Linked DNA regions of Homo sapiens: all the other regions are linked to region 2. The links are contacts of gene promoters, found by promoter capture Hi-C in human tissues and cell types (Jung and others, 2019). All regions are on one chromosome and are shown on one strand. Each heading gives the region's core, a stretch centred on a gene start or on the middle of the fragment in contact. The rest is flanking DNA. Distances are from core to core; before and after follow the strand shown.

Region 1 (4,443 bases), core at 322-2,821, 840 kb after region 2:
AACTGATCATATTGAGCCTGAAGATGAGATGCAAGGGAACTGTAATCATTGTCTGAAGACATTTGAAGAATCAGCCTGTGGAATAATGTGAACATTTATGGAGGACATCTCTAAGCATTTGACATTGATTAACTCATAAAATCTAATAATGACTGAAGTTAATATTGTTGTCATTCCAGTTGGAGATCAGGAAAGTAAGGGTCAGAAAGGCTAAATGAGTAACTTGCTCTGAGTCAGCTTAGAAATGGCAGAGCTGGGGCCGGGCGCGGTGGCTCACGCCTGTAATCTCAGCACTTTGGGAGGCCGAGGCGGGCGGATCATGAGGTCAGGAGATTGAGACCATCCTGGCTAACACGGTGAAACCCCGTCTCTACTAAAAATACCAAAAATTAGCCGGGCGCAGTGGCGGGCGCCTGTAGTCCCAGCTACTCGGGAGGCTGAGGCAGGAGAATGGCGTGAACCCAGGAGGTGGAGCTTGCAGTGAGCCAAGATAGCGCCACTGCACTCCAGCCTGGGTGAAAGAGCGAGACTCCGTCTCAAAAAAAAAAAAGAAATGGCAGAGCTGGGTTGGGAGCGGTGGCTCATACTTGTAATCACAACACTTTGAGAGGATGGCTTGAGCCCAGGAGTTTGAGACCAGCCGGGAGGTCAAGGCTGCAGTGAGCCATGATCACGCCACTGCATTCCAGCCTGGGTGACAGAGTGAGACCCTGTCTCAAAAAAAAAAAAACAAAAAAAAAAAAAAAACAAAACTGGGGAGGCAGGCAGAGCTGGGATTACAAACCCAGGCAGTCTGCCTCTAGAACTAAAGTCTTTTTTTTTTTTTTTTGAGATGGAATTTCACTCTTGTTGCCCATGCTGGAGTGCAATGGCACCATCTTGGCTCACCACAACCTCCGCCTCCCAGCTTGAGGCAATTCTCCTGCCTCAGCCTCCCTAGTAGCTGGGATTACAGGCATGCGCCATCACACCCAGCTAATTTTGTATTTTTAGTAGAGACGGGGTTTCTGCATGTTGGTCAGGCTGGTCTTGAACTCTTGACCTCAGGTAATCCACCCACCTCAGCCTCCTGAAGTGCTGGGATTACAGGCGTGAGCCACCACACCCAGCTCTAAAGTCTTTTTTTAACCTTTTTATTTTTTTAAAGAGATGATAGCTCGCTATGTTGCCCAGGTGTTCTCAATCTCCTAGGCACAAGCTAGTCCCCCAAACTGCTGGGATTACAGGTGTGAGCCACTGTGCCCAGCCTCTAGGACTAAATTCTTGGCCATTGTGCTACACTACTTGGCACTCACGGACACGTTCTTAAGCTTGTTCTCCATGGCCCCAACTAGTCCAGTGGGTTCAGTAGATGAGGGTGCAGGGAAACTCACTTCTTCTTACTTAAATCATCTTAGAGGAGCAAACCAAAGATAGGAGGGAATCCTCTGTCGCCAGAGCTTCCTGCAGCCTCGCCTAGCTCACTCCTGAGAACAGGGAGAAGGACCCTGCCGGGTCAGTGACCTTCCAGGCTCTTTGATGCTGGCTCTTTTTTTACACTGCCACTCTGTGGGTGTTTGCTATCAGAAGCCATGCATTGAAACTCATGTCTTCTATTTACAAGTTAATATATTTGTCTTACTTGTAGCACAGAAATACTTTCACGTAAGTATTATTTATTAGCTTTATGCAATGTAGCATGTTTTGTTTTATGGCACATTTCCAGTAATAATTTCTTGGTTGGATAAAAGCCATATTGTCATCAATTTTTTTTTCTTGAAGATGTTTTCCTGAATATAAAATTTATACTTTTTATTGTAGAAAATTGGAAAGTCTAAGAAGAAAATTTAAAAACTGTTGTAATCTCACTGCTCCAAGATAATCATTGTTAACCCTTGAGTGTATTTTTCCTGTTATATATTTTTCACAGAAAAGTTTGACAACTCTTGCTTTAGATTCATCAAGATTCTTTTCACAGAAAAACAGTTTTATTTTGATAAATTCTGAAGATTCCTTTTCTTTTCTTTCTTTTTTATTTTTTTGGCTAGGTTTCTGCCTCAATGCTCAAGCAGTTTCCCAACAGTGGCCTGAGTCCAGGTCTTTTCAATGTGGGGCCCCAGTTATCTCCTCAACAAATTGCCATGCTGAGCCAGCTTCCACAAATTCCCCAGTTTCAGTTGGTAAGTAGAAGATTTTCTTCCTGTGGCTAAAAAGGTCATTTGCTTTTTTTTTTTCTTTAGCTTTGATTTGCTTCCCACATCTTTGCCACTTTCTATGTTCAAAGGGTGCTAGTCCACACTTCTTTGCAAACTATGGAGTGTGCTTAAGGGTTGTCAGCTCAACTGGAGGAAAATGTAACCAAGAGACCGGGAATTTGGTGTTACTTCCCTCCTGGATACTTTTGATTGTGTGACCTGTACTTCAGTGCACAGACCCTTTAGGTGTCCTCAGTAAATCAATCTCAGGAAACTTTGGTTTTCTGTCTTTCCCCCTTGTTTTGTAGGCATGTCAGCTTCTCTTGCAGCAGCAGCAACAGCAGCAGTTGTTACAGAACCAGAGAAAGATTTCTCAAGCTGTACGCCAACAGCAAGAGCAGCAGGTACGTGGGTAGGCAGGGTCCCTCCAGTGCTGTGTTGGAGGAGTACATCCCGGCTTAGCCTCTGATGGCAAAGAACCGGGCACAGTCTTTTCCTGGGAAGTTCGGGGCCGTGCTTATCACGTGTCTGTCTCTCTTGGCCCTCAGCTGGCTCGAATGGTGAGTGCACTGCAGCAGCAGCAGCAGCAGCAGCAGAGGCAGCCAGGCATGAAGCACTCGCCCTCTCATCCTGTTGGGCCCAAGCCGCATCTGGACAACATGGTACCCAACGCATTGAATGTGGGGCTCCCAGACCTTCAAACCAAAGGGCCAATACCTGGATATGGTTCTGGTAAGTTGTTGGTAGAGAAAATTACCTTTTTAGAAATCTACCTCTCTAGGCCTGTGGTAGGGGTTGCACCTGCATTACCCTCCTTTTTTATGTCAGCTGTACAAGGTAGGTAAATATTCTTATCCCTGGTTTACAGATGAGACATCTGAGGCTTCTTGAGTTTCAGTGGGTTTCCAGAGCTCACCACATGGTTACTAAATAGCAGAGCCAGGCCTCTAACTTCTCTGGCTCCAAAGCAGTCTTCCTTTTTTTTGTGTGTGTGTGTGTGTCTGGTTTATTTTATTTAACACAGTAAAGGCTCATACATGCTATAGCACATATCAGAATTCATCCCTTTCTAAGGCTGGGTAATACTCCATTGTGCAGATATACCACAGTGTGTTTACCCACTTTTCTGCTGAAATGGATAAACTTGGATTGTTTCCACCTTTTAACTACAAGTTGAGCATCCCCTAATCTAAAAATCCAAAATGCCCCAAAATCTGAAACTTTTTGATCACCAGCATGAAGCCAGCAGTCTTTCAATACGTGTGTATGAATGGCAAACTGCTCTCCTACCGCCGGGAATTTTTAAAACCCTATTTAAATGCTTGTGCATGCTGTGAGTGGTACACATGGCTGAGGTTATGATCTGTTAAAATATGTACTAGTTTGAAATGTTTTAGTGTACTCATATTAATAAAATTGCCTTCTATAGAAAAAATGAACTAAAATTATAGTGCAGATTGATAAAAATTCATTTGATATTAGTATTTCATCTGATTTAAATAGAATTAGAACAAGTAAGGTTATGCCTTTAACATTCTTCAAGAATTTTTTGGCAGGCAAATCATAGCTCTTTCAGAACTGGAAAACATGCTGTAAGCAGAATCTAATTGGTGAGGAAACAGTGATTTCAAAACAAAATTTTAAAATGGAAAAGATACCACACACCATCATAGTTTCATCTCAAACTGACAACATTTAGAATTTATCTTCTAAAGAAGATACTGTTCTACGCACACTCAAAAAACGAGTTGGGCCGCGCGCGGTGACTCACACCTGTAATCCCAGCCCCTTGGGAGGCTGAGGCAGGCAGATCACGAGGTCAGGAGATCGAGACCAGCCTGGCCAATGTAGTGAAACCCTGTCCCTACTAAAAATACAAAAATTAGCCGGACGTTGTGGCATGCGCCTCTAATCCCAGCTACTGGGGAGGCTGAGGCAGGAGAATCACTTGAACCCGGGAGACGGAGGTTGCAGTGAGCTGAGATTGTGCCCCTGCACTCCCACCTGGGTGATAGAGCAAGACCCCATCTCAAAAAAAAAAAAAAAAAAAGAGTTGGGAAGACATGAAATTGCTGGTTCTAGGTGACAGTGTGACCCTGGACAAATGGCAGCGGCTGACTGTGCGCCAACCCCGTGATCCTCCTACTGCACGTGCAGGGGGTGAGCAAAGACTTCAAGGTGTTCTTGATCTTGATCTGGATATTTTAACGGAATTACTTTGTAGATCCTTAGCTTCCACCAACTGTTTTCATTCTTAAAGATGATCTGC
Region 2 (4,554 bases), core at 1,331-3,830:
TTCTGGCACCACAGGGCCTGAGCTGGGAGGGTGGAGGGTGGGGCCTGGTGTGCCCAGCTGTGGCTGTGTGACCGAGCAAGTTACTTATCTCTGACAGGCTGGGCGTGGGGAAGATGTACTTGCCACACAGCGCCCAACACACTGAGTGCCGCATTGAGGACATGGAGGCGGACTTTGGTATGAACCCAACAAGGCTGACTCCACTTCGGCCTCCCAAGAAGCTTGGGAATCTGGAAAGGTCAGGAGAACAAAGACCCAAGCTGGGGGAAGATGGAGAGCAAGCAAGTCCCCTGACCCTGGCCAGCTCTGGGCAGGGCAGCTTCCCTGGGGAGTGGGGCGTGTCTTTACTTCTCACTGGGCCTCAAGGGCAGGGGCTGGGGCTTGGGCAGGTCCTCCTCCCCTTTGCCAGGAGCAATGGAAATGGAGGAATGTGATTATTTTGTGCCTGCCTTCGTGCTTGGGGGCCAATGTCAAGGTTTTCTTGATGCTCAGAACGAGTTCAATGGAGAATCCAGACTTGAAACAGCACTTCTTTCATGGGCTGAGGGACGCCCAGAGTTGCTGCTGAAGGCTCAGGGAGGGAGAGAAGGTTCTGGGGAAGGAAAGTGTCTGTGAGGCGGTCCCTTCCAGAGGGGAATGAGTCCCAGGCAGGGAGAGCTGTGGCATGGGGAATTGGGGGAGGGGGACACATTTGAGCAGAAATTGAAGGTTCTTTGGGGGCCGGAGAAGAAGGGGCAGAGAGGGTTGAACAGCCAGGCTGGGGAGAGGAGGAGGGCAACATTTTTGCAGGGCAGAATAGACTGGATTTTGGGGGAGTGACAATTACCTTAAGCACATGTCATGGAGATGATTTATTTTTTTTTTGAGATGGAGTCTTGCTCTGTTGCCCAGGCTGGAGTGTAGTGGCATGATCTCGGCTCACTGCAACCTCCGCCTCCTGGGTTCAAGCAATTCTCCTGCCTCAGCCTCCCGAGTAGCTGGGATTACAGGCGTGTGCCACCACACCCGGCTAATTTTTGTATTTTTAGTAGAGATGGGGTTTCATCATGTTGTCAGGCTGGTCTTGAACTCCTGACCTTCTGATCCACCTGCCTCAACCTCCCAAAGTGCTGGGATTACAGGCATGAGCCACCATGCCCGGCCCATGGAGATGTTATAATGGAATGTGCTTAGAGTGATAGGAACTAGGAATGGATCTTACACTTTCAAATGGTTGGGAAAACATCAAAAAATGTTTCTGGACACGTGAAAATGACACGAAATTCAAATTTTTGTGTCCATAAAGTTTTATTGGAACACCGCCAGGCTCATTCTTTTACGTATTGTCTATGGTTGATTTTATGCTACGATGGCAGAGTTGAGTAGTTGGGACAGAGACCATATGGCTGGCAAAGCCTAAAAGATTTACAATCAATCTCTTAAAGCAAATGGTTTGCCCACCCTTGCTTAGAGAGAGCCTCCAGGAAGAAAAGAGCAGTGAGGGTGACGTTGAAGAAGGGGGCAAGACTAGGTCACCAGGGGCTCCCTGTGCCCCGCCCAGGCACTGAACTTAAGCTGAGGGCAAGTGGGAGCCATTGAAGGTGCAGGCAGGAGAGTGACCTGCTCAAGTGAATGTTGGAGTAGGATCACTCTGCCTCCTCAGCAAGGATGGATGAAGCTGGGCACGGAGGCACCTGGAGCAGGTAGACCAGCCCTAGGCAGCCCGGATGGTTCAGCAAAGGCCTCTGGGACTATTCTGGAGCACATTCGCTGGGATATAGAATAGGTAGCGCATCCCTGCACCTTCGACGATGGCGGCGCAGAGATGTCTGCTGCGTACCCACAATGCCTTGTGCCTCGCACCGCGGGAGGAAGTGGCTGCTCTGTAGGCCCCAGAACGGAACCACTTGAAAGGCGGGAAACACGTGGGGGACGCCTCTGAGCCCTGAGAGGAATGGCCTAGAGCAAGGCCACGAGGAGCCAGGGCACGACACGGTGGGCCCTCGGAGAACCGCTGGTGGGCAAGTGGCAGGAGAGTAGGCTCAAGAGGGTTGGCAGGGCCGACCGGGCCTAGGGTGGCCGGGTGAGGGGGGCGGGGGAGGGGAGGCCCCCCCAGTTACCCCAGGAGTGCGCAGGTGGCTTCGGGCATGTGAGGGACGGAGGGGGTCGGACGGAAGGACACAGGCCGGTGTACAGCGGTCACCCACGCCCCAAGCAGACACACAGACTCTGCAGACACCGTAACAGGCCCGGCACCGTGCACACATCACAGGCCCAGGCCTCTGCACATGGTCACAGATGCCTATGCGAAATCCCGGCCCAGGTTCACGCGGGCACAGGCGCATCCACGCACACACCGCAACACGGATCTGCACGTCCATGCACACACAGGCACAGACTCGGGCACACGGAGTCACACCGACCCGGGCACGCTGCGGAACGCACCCGTCCACGCATACACAGAACGGGACTTGCTGCCCCGCACGCACACCAGGCCCGCACTCCGAACTACCCGCATTCCCCGCACACGCCCCCGCGCAGGCCGCCCCGGGCCGTGGGCCGGCGCACGCACGGTCACAGGAGGGGCGCGCGCACACTCGCACTCACACACACTCGCTCGCACACGCACACACTCGATCCAGCACGCGCGGGCGGCGCGGGGCGGCGGCGGCCGGAGTCTGCGGTGCGAGGCGCCCCCGGCCCGGCGCGGCGGCGGAGCCCGGCTGGCGGGGGAGGGGAGGGGGTTGCGGAGGGGGCGGGGTGGGGGCCGGAGCCGCTTGAGCCGGCGGGAGCGGGCACCCCTGCGCGCCGCGCTCGGCCTCGCCTCCGCGCCCCCCGCGCGCCCGCCGCGGTCCCTCCCCCGCGCCCGTCCGCTCGCCGGGCCCCCGCCGCCGCCCCGGGGTGCAGCCGAGCGGCCGCGCCGGGTCCCCGGGACGGGGTGGAAGTGGGGGTGGGGGGAGGGGATCGGGGCCGGGCCGGGGCCGCGCTGCCTGCGATGCCGGGCGCCCGCCGCAGCCGCTGCCGCCGGAGCCCGGGATGGGGCGAGAGGCTGCGGCGGACGCCAGCATCTCCCCGCCGGGGACCCCGGGGGCCGCGGAGCCGCCGCCGCCGCTGCTGCCGCCGTTGCTGAGACCCAGCGGGCGATGGGTGAGTTGACCCCGGCGTCCTGGGGGGCGCCGCGGCCCCTCTATCCCCGCGCTGCCCGCCCTCCCGCGCTGCGCTTGGCGCCCCCCGCCCGGCTCCGCGGCCCACTCCCCGAGCGTGACCTTAGGGGGCGGGCGCGGGCGCACTGGGGCTGGGGGCCCGGAGGCCGCGGTGGGGGCGGGATGCCGGGGAAGCCGCTCGGCGCGGGCCCCCTCCCCCTACCCGCCGCTCCTCCGAGCTCCCCGGTCCCCGGAGGGCAGAGCCTCAGCGCCCGACCCCCTCCCACGGCCGGGCGGGGGACGTCCCCGAGGCGCGGGGCTCGAGCCGTGCTTTGTGCGCGGCACCCCCCAGCCTCCGGCGCGGCTCCCCCACAACCTCCGGCGCGGCGCGGGGCTGGGGTGGGAGGCCTCCGCGCCCGCCTTCCCCACCCCCGACCCCAGACTGCGGCGGCGGCAGCCGAGGCCCAAGCGCAGTCGGGGGCTGGGCGGGTGCGGGGGCTGCGGCCGTAGCTACCCCTGGGGACCAGGCAGAGGCAAATGTGGAGAGGGCCCCCGGCCATTTACCGGGGTGGGGGCCCCCGGCTCCTTGCATTGCTCTGCCCAGGGCGGGGGAGGGAACCTGGCTGAGGGAGGGCGCTATAAATATCTGCAAATAGTGAGTTCTGGAACCGGGAGTGGGGAGGGGAGTGCGCCTGGGTGTGTGTATGGTGGGGTTCCTGAGCTGGGGTGCAGCAGGAAGGGATGCCGCGCGGCCAGACCTAGTGGTCTGAGGTCGGATGACCCCCAGCCCCGGAAGATGCCCCTGAAGGCCCCTGATGGGGTGTGGGCAGACACACTACCCCAGTGGGATTCCTCCCTGGTTCCCCACTTCATTCCTGGGACACACCAGTCCAGATTCGCCTTGATGGGGGAGTTGTGAGCACTGGCGTGTCGTTTGGGGAGGGGGAGCAGTTATGAAAGATCCAGACATGGAGCCCAGCAGAAGGATGGAGGGGAGAGCCCCCACCCCCAGGAGCTGCAGCTCTGAGGGGGTTTTCAGTCTAAGGAGTGCTAAGGGGAGCCGCTCTGGGTCCTAGGAAGGTTTGAAAGAGGGGTCCCAGCCCAGGAGGAAGAGAGAGGTTACTGGAAGAGATGACGACAGGAAGCTGCCAGAGATCTCTGGGTAGAGAAAGGTGGGAAGGGCGTTGTGGGCCAAGGGAATGGCATGAGCAAAGGCTCAGAGGTGTGAGTGTCTGGCGTGTGTTGAGAGGTGGCAGTGGGAACAGTCAGGCACTGTGGGTGCCCCCTGGAAGAAGTGAGATGAAAACGGGGCAGAGGCTGGGCAGGGAGGCCAGGTGGAGGTGAGGTGGGAGGGCACAGCAGGGAGCTGGCACTTGGTCCTGAGGACGGCAGGGAGCCAAGACCTGGCTGGGGGGATGCCGCTGGCTCAGAC
Region 3 (4,800 bases), core at 293-2,792, 520 kb after region 2:
GGCTGCAACACTCTATGTGACTTGGGAACTTGAAGCTTCCAGAGAAAAGCCAGGTCCTGTTGGACCAGTTGTTGGGTTTTCCTAACCACTTGCTGTGCCTCACCGCATTTCAAATATCTGGCACCTGCCACTGCCCACCCACTTTTAGATGGCCCTAGGGTGATCTAACCATGGTGCTTCTCAAAATTTAAAGTGCCTACGAATTGCCTGGGGACCGTGTTGAAATGCAGCTTCCAACTTGGTCCTGAATTTCTAACAAGCTACTGGGTGCTGTTGCTAGGTCCACATGTTAAGGAGCAAAGGCAAAGAACTTAGCAGTGAGCACAACTCTAATTGGGCTCTTCTTCTGAGGATATTCGGCCATTTTTTCTTCGCTGCTAACGAATAGGTCACTTTGGCTTTGGGACAGATGCAATTCAGAACGGTCATTATGACGTCATTCATATTTGGCTACCCAGGTGACTTATTATTTTAGCATCCTTATCTCTAGAATTAAAAAAATGTAATGTGAGAGGAATTCAGATGAAATGCAAACAGGAATTTCCTATAATAATTACTATTTCCTAATAGTAATTATTTTAAACATCAGCAGAGATTGCAGAAGTTGTAAAAGCTTTGTCAGGAAATCTTCAGTCATAAAATTGACTCTGGTCAGATGTGGCCCTGGTTGAGGCAGGGGACTGTGCTCCCAGCTAACCTAAAACACAACAGCCCACACTCGGGACAGATTAGCATGGCCAAAATATTTACTGTTTGCCTTGTCTAAGCCAACATTTTAGCCCCTCTATACCAAGGCAAGTGTGTGAGAAAAACCTTGATTGTCTCAATGCTTTTTAAAAAATGCCTCCTCAGTTCCTCCACTTTACTCCATCACCTTGGCCATGCCACCATCATCTCTTCCTTTGGCAACTGTCAGCTTTCATACCTTTCTCCCTGCATTCTCTCCCGTAATCTGGTCCTCCACACAGATGCCAAAGCGATCTTTGTAAAAATAAATCCGATCACATCACTCCCCTTCCCACTGGATTTAGGCTTAAGTCCAAAGTCCTAATGTGGCCCTGTGAAGTCCGGCCCCTGCCTCCCTCCTCAGCCTCCTCTTCTGCCTCCCCTGCCCCTTGCTTTTATGCTCCTGCCCCACTGGCCTTTCAGCCTCCAAATGGCCAAGGATTTGTCCCCAAACCTTTCACACTTGCCATTCTTGCTACCTGGAGGCACATCCCCTGCTAACCCTGCTAACTCTTGTTCATCTCCAGGTCTGGGTTGGTTTTTTGTTTTCTGTTTTTTGTTTTTTGTTTTTGTTTTTGTTTTTGTTTTTGTTTTTGTTTTGAGATGGGGTCTGGCTCTGTTGCCCAGGCTGGAGTGCAGTGGCACAGTCTCAGCTCACTGCAGCCTCTGCCTCCCAAGTTCAAGTGATTCTCCCACCTCAGCCTCCCGAGTAGCTGGGATTACAGGGTCATGTCACCACACCTGGCTAATTTTTGCATTTTTGGTAGAGACAGGGTTTCACCATGTTGGCCAGGGTGGTCTTGAACTCCTGACCTCAGGTGATCCACTCACCCTGGCTTCCCAAAGTGATGGGAATATAGGTGTGAGCCACCATGCCTGGCCCAGGTCTGGGTTTAAATGTCACTTCCAAACAGTCCTCCCCTGCCCTCTAATCTAAAATAATCCTTCCCCTAAGATGGTCTTATGAATCCTGTGCTTTTCCTGAATAGCACGTACACAGATGATGGTGCCAGACTGAGCTGTATGGCTATTACAGCTCACTGCAGCCTCTGCCTCCCAAGTTCAAGTGAACTTGGAGCTGTAAGCTCCACGGAGCAGGGGTCACCTCTGTTTTGTAAACCATTGTACACCCAGCATCTAGCACTATGCAAGGCACACAGAGGCTCAGTAAATATTTTTCTAATGAAGGAATGATTGGACCTGCTTCATCTCATCTATTTACTCATTTTGTAACTCAACTGTCTTGGGCCTAACAGACCTGTAGATGCAAACAAGGTCATATTTACAATGATGTCCAGGTTCCAGTAGCTTTAGCCACTGTCTTCGGATTCTCCTCCAGTTAACTTCTGAGAGGCCAAGAGAGGGAGGCTGTTATCTCTCACGTGTTTAGGCACCAGTATACTCACGCTTCCTACTCTGGTTCCAGTGTTCTGTTGCCCCACGCATCCTCTGCTGACAATGCCTTCCCAGATGCTGCGGATCCACTATGCACCACATTTATCTGCTGGTGAATTGACCCAATCCTTCAGGACACCAAATCTGCCCTGCAGTCCACATGACAAGGAGATTGGGGAAGAGGTAGAGGGGAGAATGGCCAGCCTGTGCCCAATTCTGAGAGGCACTGCTTGGACCCTGGCTCCCTCAGCATCTTCCATGAGCACAGCTGGCTCTCTTCTCAGCCGAGCCCTCCCTCCATCAGACAGAACAAGGGATACCAACCCTTCCCTCCGTCTCTCTCTTCTCACTCTTCCCTGTTGCCTCTTTCTCCTTGAGCTCAAAAGAAGGGGAATGTACCTACATGCCATCGTTAGCTCACAGCTAACCTGAAACACAACAGCCCACACTGGGGACTGATTAGCATGGTCAAAATATTTGCTGTTTTCTCAGTCTAAAGTCAACACTTCAGCCTGTCCATACCAAGGCAAGGGTGTCCTCTGCACCACACCATTTGTGCAGTAGATACTACCTAGAAGCCTAGTAGCTGTGCACTCACTTCTATTGTTTTAAGTTTTGCTGTAATTCATTCATTAAGTCAACAAATATTTACAAAGCACCTCTTCAGGGTCAGACACAATCAGCCATCGGGTCCTTCACATTCTCTCAACTCTGTCCCTTCTCTGCACCCATTCCACAGCCACTGCCTTACTTCAAACCTCTCTCACTTCTTTCCCTGATGACTGCAATAGTCTCAGCACTCGTCTCCCTGCCTTTCTGGCTGGCCCCCTGTAATACAGCCTCCAACGCAGTCAGGGAGATCTTATTCGCAGACAGGCTGATGATACCAAGCTCCTGCTCAAATCTTTGGGTTCTCCATAGTCTTCAGGCTGGAGTTTAACCTCCTTAGCTTCGCACTAAAGGCCTTTTGTGATCTGCCTGCTGCCTTGTTCGTTCAGCCACATCTTCTACCTCTCCAGTCCCAAACACTCTTTACTTCAGTCCCTTAGAACTATCTGTGGTTCCCAGAATGAGGCATGTTTTCTAAGACCTCTGGTCTCCTACATTCTGTTCTTTTTGCCTGGAATGCTTTCTCCCACTGTTTTGTCTAGACAAGGGCTGTCTATTAGGACTTTCTGTGATGAGGGAAAAGCTCTGTATCTGCTCCATCCAATGTGGTAGCCACTAGCCACTAGCCACATGTGGCTATTGAATACTTGAAATATGCCTGGTATAAATGACTGAAATTGCCACATGTGGCAAAGAGCTGCCTTATAGGGCAGCGTGGGTCCAGACAACTGTTACTTACTTTGAAATCATTAGCTCAGGGCTCCAGGTCTCCACTGGGAAACCATCCCAATATTATGGTTGATGTAAGTGCCCCCGTTCCCCCACCCCCACTTATGTTCCTGTAGTAACCTTGTTCTCCCTCTATCCCAATACTCAGAACACCATTGTCAGTGATTCACTGATCTGCCTCCTCTGCTAGACCAAATCTTTTTTAGGTCAAAGATATGCAGTGCAGTCAATAAATGGTTGATGCCTAGATGCAGTGACGTGCTGGTAAAGATTTAATAATTGGCTCTCTCTAAGAAGAAGCCCTAACTTGTGGTATTTGCCAATTCTATGGTGTAAACACTCCCACCATATGCCAAGAGAATGAGAAGACAAGTCACAGACCAGGAGAAAATATGTACAGAAGACATATCTGATAAAGGACTATGATACACAAAGAACTCTTAAAACTCAACAATAGGCAGGGCACAGTGGCTCACGCCTGTAATCCCAGCACTTTGGGAGGCCGAGGCAGGTGGATCATGAGGTCAGGAGTTTGAGACCAGCCTGGCCAAGATGGTGAAATCCCGTCTCTACTAAAAATACAAAAATTAGCCGGGTTTGGTGGCGGGCACCTGTAATCCCAGCTACTTGGGAGGCTGATGCAGGAAAATTGTTTGAACCCGGGAGGTGGAGGTTGCAGTGAGCCAAGTTCCTGCCACTTCGCTCTAGCCTGGGCAACAGAGCAAGACTCCATCTCAAAAAAAGAAAGAAAGAAAGAAAGAAAGTAAGAAACAAAAAAAACCAACAACAACAACAAAAAAACTCCACAATTAGAAGATGAACAACCCAATTTAAAAATGGGCAAAAGACATGGACAGCTCATGGAAGAAGATATAGATGGCAAGTGAGGAGATAAAAAGATGCTCAATATCATATGTCATTAGGAAAATACAAATTAAAACAATGAAATATCACCACACACCTATAAGAATGCCCCATATCTATAATACTGACAACACCATATGCTGGTGATGATGTGAAACAACAGGAACTCTCATTCATTGATGGTGGGAAGGCAAAATGGTACAGCTACTTTGGAAGAGAGTTCGACGGTTTCTTGCAAAACTAAACTTACGCTGGTCATAGGATCCAGCATTCACACTCCTTGGTATTTACTGAAAGGTGCTGAAAACATCCACACAAAGACCTGGACATGGATATTTATAGTGGCTTTATTCATAATTGCCAAAACTTAGAAGAAACCAAAATGTCCTACAATAGGTGAATGAATAAATAAACTGTGGTACCTCCAGACAATAGAATAGTATTTAGAAAGAAATAAGCTACCAAGCTATGAAAGAT

The links. Contacts are between HindIII fragments. The study calls those that stand out against the background at their distance.
Region 1: a fragment that was not itself captured here is called in contact with the fragment with the promoter of MGAT3 in region 2 in 2 of the 25 tissues and cell types used here (dorsolateral prefrontal cortex and lymphoblastoid cells).
Region 3: a fragment that was not itself captured here is called in contact with the fragment with the promoter of MGAT3 in region 2 in 1 of the 25 tissues and cell types used here (spleen).

The regions. Positions count from the first base shown.
Region 1 is chr22:40,298,428-40,302,870 of GRCh38, forward strand. TNRC6B (trinucleotide repeat containing adaptor 6B) reads left to right here. Exons shown (of 23, transcript NM_001162501.2): 13 at 2,028-2,159; 14 at 2,483-2,578; 15 at 2,723-2,906. Among named protein-coding and RNA genes, the nearest start is that of ADSL, 46 kb to the right of the region's middle. The HindIII fragment of the contact is 7,080 bases long and covers 1-4,443 here.
Region 2 is chr22:39,454,432-39,458,985 of GRCh38, forward strand. MGAT3 (beta-1,4-mannosyl-glycoprotein 4-beta-N-acetylglucosaminyltransferase) reads left to right here and starts at 2,581. Exons shown (of 2, transcript NM_002409.5): 1 at 2,581-3,126. RefSeq lists silencers at 2,507-2,566, 3,297-3,566, 3,577-3,706 and an enhancer at 4,027-4,226. The HindIII fragment of the contact is 12,980 bases long and covers 1-4,554 here.
Region 3 is chr22:39,973,849-39,978,648 of GRCh38, forward strand. No RefSeq gene overlaps it. Among named protein-coding and RNA genes, the nearest start is that of TMA7B, 16 kb to the left of the region's middle. The HindIII fragment of the contact is 5,794 bases long and covers 1-4,439 here.